Regions from separate parts of the Homo sapiens genome. Here region 1 is linked to region 2. The links are contacts of gene promoters, found by promoter capture Hi-C in human tissues and cell types (Jung and others, 2019). All regions are on one chromosome and are shown on one strand. Each heading gives the region's core, a stretch centred on a gene start or on the middle of the fragment in contact. The rest is flanking DNA. Distances are from core to core; before and after follow the strand shown.

Evidence for each region. The method cuts DNA at HindIII sites, captures the fragments that hold promoters and counts their contacts. A contact is called where the count stands out against the background at its distance.
Region 1: a fragment that was not itself captured here is called in contact with the fragment with the promoter of SLC13A5 in region 2 in 2 of the 25 tissues and cell types used here (mesendoderm cells and thymus).

Annotation. Positions count from the first base shown.
Region 1 is chr17:6,974,180-6,978,384 of GRCh38, forward strand. No RefSeq gene overlaps it. Among named protein-coding and RNA genes, the nearest start is that of ALOX12, 20 kb to the right of the region's middle. The HindIII fragment of the contact is 6,661 bases long and covers 1-4,205 here.
Region 2 is chr17:6,711,994-6,716,106 of GRCh38, forward strand. SLC13A5 (solute carrier family 13 member 5) reads right to left here and starts at 1,376. Exons shown (of 12, transcript NM_177550.5): 1 at 1,239-1,376. The coding sequence starts at 1,340. The HindIII fragment of the contact is 16,548 bases long and covers 1-4,113 here.

The DNA of each region.
Region 1 (4,205 bases), core at 1,695-4,194, 260 kb after region 2:
ACGTTGGTGATAAATTCTCTGTACTATCTTTGCAATTTTCCTGTAAATCTAAAACCATTCTAAAATTTAAAGTTTATTTTTTAAAGCTATTGTTTTATAAAATAAATCACAGAATATTTTTTAATGTTGATAACACCATGGCATGAGCGGGTGGTGTGACATTTCTGAATCACACATCAGTGGAATCTTGATGTCACCGATTTTACATGTTACTTTTTGAGGTTAGGTGGAGACTGCAAGTCCTCACAGATTAATGCTGTAAAGTAGATTTATGAAAGGGAGACTTTAAAAACCCCACCCAAGACGCACTCCCAAAAAAAGTATTGCTGCTGCTTGCAAAAACACCTCCAGATACCAGAAACCACTGAAAAGATAATAAATATTACTATAAAATTAACACAAACTAGAGCCAAGCGTGGTGGCTCACGCCTGTAATCCCAGCACTTTGGGAGGTCGAGGTGGGTGGATCACCTCAGGTCAGGAGTTCGAGGCCAGCCTGGCCAACATGGTGAAACCCTGTCTCTGCTAAAAATACAAAAATTAGCCAGGTGTGGTGGTGGGCGCCTGTAATCCCGGCTACTCAGGAGGCTGAGGCAGGAGAATCACTTGAACCTGGAAGGCGGAGGTTGCAGTGAGCCGAGATCACGCCATTGTACTCCAGCCTGAGCGACAGAGCGAGACTCCATTTCAAAAAAAAACATTAACACAAACTAGCTGGCCAGTGGTAGGGTGATCTCTACATAATGATAGAGAAATTTGGAAGATTATCCGTGTGAAAATACAAGTTGAATAGGAGATGCCAAATCAAGGTGGCTGACTTTAAAGGACCTCCTCTGGGAGCTGGTGGACAGAACTGTCGATATGATTTGAATATCCGGCCCCTCCAAATCTCATGCTGAAATGTGACCCCCAGTGTTGGAGGTGGGCCTACTGGGAGGTGTTTGGGTCATAGGCGCAGATCCCTAGTGAATGGCTTGGTGCCATCCTTGAAGTAATGAGTGGTAATGAGTTCATACAAGATCTGGTTGTTTCAAAGCTTGTGATACCTTCTTGCTCACTCTCTCTTGCTTGCTCTCTTGCCATATGACATGCCTGCTCTCCCTTTGCCTTCCAACATGATTGGAAGCTTCCTGAGGCCCTCACCAAAAGCAGAAGCTGGCACTATGCTTCTTACACAGCCTGCAGAACTGTGAGCCAAATAAACCTCTTTTGTTTATAAATTACCCAGCCTCAGGTATTCCCTAATAGCAACACAAAGCAGACTAATGCTAACACAACTGTCTTCTATCCCTCCTAAGATTAATAGGCAGGAACCAAGATAATAATAATAAAATAATAATAATAATAATAATAATAATAATAATAATAAATTATCCAGAAAAAAAGGGGATGACTACTTCCAACTACATGAAAAATTTTAAAAGAAATATTAAATAGTGAGTCAACATGAAACTATAAGGCCATCACTAGGCAGTCTTCTCATACTCAAATGCATTGACCTTTATCCTGGCTGACTCACCCATAGAAATATGAAAAAAAAACCTAGGAGATGCCAACTTCCCACCCCTGAGGGTTGAAGGTCCCAGCAATTTCGAGAAAATATCCCCACAAAAAGGACCCAGTGGCTGGGCGCGGTGGCTCACGCCTGTAATCCCAGCACTTTGGGAGGCCGAGGTGGGCGGATCACCTGAGGTCGGGAGTTCAAACCAGCCTGACCAACATGGAGAAACCCCATCTCTACTAAAAATACAAAAAAAAAAAATTAGCCAGGCATGGTGGTGCATGCCTGTAATCCCAGCTACTCGGGAGGCTGAGGCAGGAGAATCATTTGAACCTGGGAGGTGGAAGTTGCAGTGAGCTGAGATGCCACCATTGCACTCTAGCCTGGGCAACAAGAGCATAACTCTGTCTCAAAAAAAAAAAAAAAAAAAAAACCCAGGTATGAGGATAGCAAGAAATTCACTCCACATGCAAACTCACTTGCACAAATCCTGGACTGCCAGGAAGAACGCCACTCACAGGCTGGTACATTGTTTGAAGTCAGTAGTTTTTTAGCCACAGTCTACAGCTGCCCAGGTGCTCCAGCCTAGAGACCGTACCTCTGCCTCACCTCTGGCCTTACTCAGGACTCTTTTGTCTACGTGTAACAGAAAGTGAATTCAAAGTGGCTTTTAAAAATAGGCATTTTTAGGCTGGTGCAGTGGCTTACACCTGTAATCCCAGCTGTCTGGGAGGCCAAGGTGGGTGGATCACCTGAGGTCAGGTGTTCGAGACCAACCTGGCCAACATGGCGAAACCCTGTCTTTACTAAAAATACAAAATTAGCCGGGCAGGGTAGCACATGCCTATAATCCCAGCTACTCAGGAGGCTGAGGCAGGGGAATCACCTGAACCAGGGAGGCGGAGGTTGCAGTGAGCCAAGGTTGCACCACTGCACTCCAGCCTGGGCAACAAGAGTGAAACTCCATCTCAAAAAAATAAAAAATACCAAAATAAAATAAAATAGGCATTCTTGTCTCACCTAAGTTGGAGGGAAACAGAAAAAAAGAACAATAAAAATAAAAGGAAATTATTGGTTCCTATAACATAAAAGGTCAGGGTTAGTCTGACCTCAGGCATGGCTGCATCAGGGGGTTCAAAGAATATCATCAGGACGAAGGCTCACTCTCTTGCTCCCTCTCCGTGACCTCAATTTGCTTTCCTGTCTGTTGGCTTTATTCTCTGACAGGCTTTCTCCAAGAGGGTCACTGGAGTCAACAGGCCTGTAGTCTACCAGCTTGGCAGCCACCATGGAAACACAAAGATTTCATTCTATTTCCATCAAAGCCCCAGAAAAAGCCTCGTTAGCTCTGATTAGCCCATCTTGGACCATATGTCCATCTTTGAACCAATCACTGTCCAAGAAGATGTGATACTCTCATTGACCAGTGTTCAATGGGGACCTACTCTCCTAGCAGTAGACTAGCAGAAAAATAGTAGGACACCCTGAGATTCACCGGAAATATCATATGTGAGTAAAAGCAACAACAGCCAAAGAGAACAGGAATCTCTGGCTGACTGAGCAGGTTTTCAGGCTTTGTTCTTCCAAAGATAATAAGAAGTGCTAACCCATAAAACTTAACAAGCCTCTCTAAGGAATCCGGAGTTGTTATGAGTTATTATATGTAAAAAGCACTTAGAAAAATGTCTGGCCCAAAGTAAGTACTGTAGAGCTGTTAGCGAACATCACGGAAGAAGGATCCTGGAGAATGGAAAAGAACATATTCTAGTAGTCAGGGTGGAGGCACAGAATTGTTTAAATATTAAAAGGAGTGTAACCTAATTTTGTAACAAACTGGTGAAGCAGGATATATGAGTTAAACTACTTTTTGCTTCTTTGATTCATAATTTGAGAATGACAAAACTGTTTTAAAATAAATCTTTTCCGTCACCAACGCAAGGGGATTTGATGTAAAATAAAATATCTGGCCAGGTGCGGTGGCTCATGCCTGTAATCCCAGCACTTTGGGAGGCTGAGGCGGAAGGATCCCTTGAGTCCAGGAGTTGGAGACCAGCCTGGGTAACCATAGGTTGACCCCATCTCTACAAAAATAAGAAAATTAGCTGAGCGTGGTGATGCCTGCCTATGGTTTCAGCTACTTGGGAGGCTAAGCCAGGAAGATCACTTGAGGCCAGGAGATTGAGGCTGCAGTGAGCTATGATCACATCACCACACTCCAGCCTAGGTGACAGAGTGAGACCCTGTCTCAAAAAAAAAAAAAAAAGGAGAAGAAGAACAAAATATCCAATACTGGTTATAAGATGATGAACTAATAGATACTGCAGTCTACCCTTCTACACCAAATTCTAACCACACAAACAACAGAAGCATATTATTAATAAATTAATAATTATGCTCAAAAACCAGAAATGCTTGCTGGACTGGGGAGAGAGAACATGCTGAAAGACAGAAATCATACTGAGGTAGGAGGCAGGTGGGACTCGTCTCCAGACCAGATTGAAACTGACTGAAGGCCGGGCATGGTGGCTCACGCCTGTAATCCCAGCACTTTGGGAGGCCGAGGTGGGCAGATCACCTGAGGTCAGGAGTTCGAGACCAGCCTGGCCAATATGGTGAAACCCTGTGTCTACTAAAAATACAAAAATGAGACAGGCGTGGTGGTTCATGCCTGTAATCCGAGCTACTCAGGAGGCTGAGCGAGGAG
Region 2 (4,113 bases), core at 126-2,625:
CCCCTCCCCCATCCTAGGAACTAACGTTAATCCCTTTTGATTCCCAAAGCCTTAAAGTGTCAGAACCAAACCACCTAGCCCCATTGTACAGATGAGAACACCAAGGCCCAGAGAGCACAGGCACTTGGCTAAAGTCACACAGATGACAGAATGGTGGAAGTCCAGTTCTCTTGCAGGTTGGCTTCCTGACACCCCAGTGCACTCCCTTCCTCTAGAGCTCCCCCCCAGAGCATCCCCTGAAGAGCTCCTCTGTTTCCCAAACCTGCCTGGGGAGGGGAGGTGGGGAGCTGGAGGTTTCCTGTCTGGGCTGAGAGTGAAAGGGCTGAAAGAAGGAACGAGGAAGGAGCAGCCAGCAGCCACAAAAGGCTTCAAAGGGCTTGGGCCTCCGCCAAACTGGCTGTGCACAGCCCAGTGGAGCCTGCGCCCACCCTGCGGCCAAGGCCATTCATTCTCTCTCTCCCTCACAGAAGCATTAGGAGACTAGGGCCTGGGAGGAAGCTTCCCTGCAACTCCAGGTCCTGCCACCCAAGGCGCGAGCTCTGGGAATGTGTCCCGCCTCCTGCTACAGCCCCAGCAGGCAGGAGGCAAAGCAGGCCAACCCCAACCTGCCTGCAGCCTGGAGCAGGATTATGAATCAGATGTGGCTCTCCAGGTTGGAAGGAATGTGGATCATAGATAGAGACACTAAGGCCCAAGGAAGGGCCAGAGAGTGGCAAAGACAGCGCAGGATCCACGTGGGTGATGATTTTTTTCCTGTAGGTCCCTCCTGACGGCAGAAGCCACCTACAGCTTGAAGTCTTCTTTGGCGAAGGGAAAAGACAGGAGAGAGAGAGGGAAAGGCAAGCTCCCAGGTTCCCTGTTGGCGCAGGTGGCATTTTGGGGGGAAACAGGGTTATGCACTGTGGGAGATTCGATTCGGAGCCAGGGGCTGAGCCTAAGGCTGGGATCTGTGTGGCTGAGATCTGTGCTCACTTCGAGGTTTCCGTGCTTGCCTGGACGGCTCTTGCGCCCTGGGATCTGTAAACCCCAAGGGTGGTGCGCCCTGGGGTCGCCATGCCCCTCAGATTCTTTACAGGGCACCTCCCATCCGGCACCTGGAGCTCCTGAGTGCGCGCGCCCCGGGAGAGCTGTGCTCCCCGCGAAATCCGTGCGCTCCAGCTCAGGGCTCCCGGGATCGGTGCCCGTTAGTGGGCACAGGACGCCGGGTGTCCGAAGGGCTGCCTGGAGATGCAACTGACCTTGGCGGGCATCAGAATGACGAGTGGCAGCAGCAGGAGCGGGGTGACGAACAAGATCACGAAGGACTTGAACTTGGAGACATAGCTCAGCGCCGAGGCCATCGCGCGGGAGGGAGACTGGCGGGCGAGACGAGTGAGGGGCAGCTAGAGGCGCCGCGGGCTTAAGAAGGGGCCACAGTCCCCGGGGATTGGGGAGGGGGCGGTGACAACTCCGCCCCGCACGGGGGCGCCTCCCCGCGGCCCTGGGGCGGGGCCACCCCTCGGGGTCTGTGGGACGCGCCTGCCCCCAATTCTGCCACCCGGCGGCGGTGGGAGGCGTCTTTGGACTCCAACGCTTCGGGCCAGCCCTCTAGGGGCAGCCTGGGCCCTAGCATCTCGCGCTGTCCAAGCCTCTCCTGCGCTGCCGAGGCAGAGGTGCGTCCCGGGGCTGCCAAGCGGGGCGTGTTTTGGTCACTGGTGCTGCCCGCTTTGGCGTAAGGCGCCCTCCCGCGTCCGCATCTGCTCTTTCCTGGGCTCTGAAGGGTCCCGGATGAAACTCTCTGCAGGCCTCTGGGTCTCTCAGGTCTATCTCCCCGATCTCCCTCTCCTTTCCATCTCCTTACTTCCGCCCCTCCGGTGTCTCTCCGAGAGGTGTCCCCCCACGCCCCGCGCCCTCCGCACCGCGGGCCTCGCTTCCCGGTCCCCCCTGGCTTCCTCGCCACGTCCGCCCCACTCTAGGTGCAGGACCCCTTTTCCCCGCTCGCACTCTCCGGCCCGGAGCTCCTGGGCGATCGCACAGGGAAGCGAGGCCACTGTCCTCCTCTGTCCCAGGGGCTGTCGCGCTCCAGTGGACGCTGCACCCCGCAGACGCCCGGCGGGCAGATGCGGACACGCGTCTTGGAGGGGCCCCACCGAGCCTCAGCAGCCGCAGCTGCCCGCCCGACCCAGGTCAGAGGGAAACGGAGCTCTAGAGAGGAAGGGACACAACTAAGGCGACACTGAGACAGTCGCCCATGTATTCATTCAGCCCGCCAGGCAACAGACAGGTGCCGAGCACCTCTTCTCCGCGAGGCCCTGTTTTGGGCACTGGAGACACACGGATGCAAAGACATCCCCACCTCTGTGATTTTCTTCTTTCCTCTCCTCTGCCTGCCTCTCATTCTGCAGCTTCCTTTTGGGGAGTCTCATCCATGCTGGTGGCCTAACCACAGCCGGCTCCTTAGTGATTACCATCCTCTGCCTTCAACCCAGCCATGATGCCAGAGTCCCAGATGTCCAGCCTTCCGCAGACTGGACGTGTCTCGGCCCGAAAATTCAACACATCCTGAATCAAGCTCATGAGTTCCTTCCTGTGACCTGCACCCAAGGACATGCATTCTCCCAAGCCCCTCCTGCAATTGCCTCCCTCCTGTCCTTTTCCCTTTGTAACTCTCATGCATATAGCCCTGGGTTTTCCCGCCTTTCCTGTGTCCCCAGGGCACTTAGCACAATTTGTACCTCTTATATTTATTGGTGTAATTTTTACTTTTTACTTTTTTATTTTTTAAGTGTTATTTCATTTTTAATTGACAAATCATTGTCTATATTTACGGGGTACCATGTGATTTTTCAATGTGTGTATAATTGTGGTGTGTTCAAATCAGGCTAATGAGCATATTTATCACTCGAATATTTATCATTTCTCTTGTTTTTGTTTTTTGTTTGTTTGTTTGAGACAGAGTTGTGCTCCTGTCACCCAGGCTGGAGTGCAGTGGCACGATCTCGGCTCACTGCAACCTCTGCCACCTAGGTTCAAGCAAATCTCCTGCTTCAGCCTCCCAAGTAGCTGGGATTACAGGTGTGCACCACCACGCCCGGCTAATTTTTTGCATTTTTAGTAGAAATGGGGTTTCACCATGTTAGCCAGGCTGGTCTCGAACTCCTGACCTCAGGTGATCCGCCCACCTCGGTCTCCCAAAGTGCTGGGATTACAGGCGTGAGCCACCGCGTCTGGCCCAAATATTTGTCATTTCTTTGTGGTGAGAACATTTAAAATATCTTGTAGCTATTTTAAAATATATGACACATTATTATGATGTAATTTCTATTTACTGTCTGTTTTATTCATCACCACCTGTCCAGCTAGTGCCTTTCTCAGTGCCTAATCCAGGATGTGCACTCAAACCTTTTTCTCCGGGATGCATGAATGAGAGCAAGTAAACAACTTCAGTTCTTTTTTCTTTTCTTTTTTTTTAATTTTACTTTAAGTTCTGGGATACATGTGCAGAATGTGCAGGTTTGTTACATAGGTATACATGTGCCATGGTGGTTTGCTGCAGCTATCAACCGGACATTTAGGTTTTAAGACCCACATGCATTAGGTATTTGTCCTAATGCTCTCCCTCCCCTTGCCCTCCAACCCCCTGACAGGCCCCCGTGTGTGATGTTCCCCTCCCTGTGTCAATGCGTTCTCACTGTTCAACTCCCACTTATGACTGAGAACATGTGGTGTTTGGTTTTCTGTTCCTGTGTTAGTTTGCTGAGAATGATGGCTTCCAGCTTCATCCATGTCCCTGCAAAGGACATGACCTCATTATTTTTAATGGCTGCATAGTATTCCATGGTATGTATGTGCCACATTTTCTTTATCCAGTCTATCATTGATGGACATTTGGGTTGGTTTTAAGTCTTTGCTATTGTAAATAGTGTGCATGTGTCTTTATAGCAGCATGATTTATAATCCTTTGGGTATATACCCAGTAATAAAATTGCTGGGTCAAATGATATTTCTGGTTCTAGATCCTTGAGGAATCGCCACAGTGTCTTCCACAATGGTTGAACTAATTTACACTCCCACCAACAATGTAAAAGTACAACTTCTGTTCTTAATACAACTGCTTCCAAAGGGATTCACCAG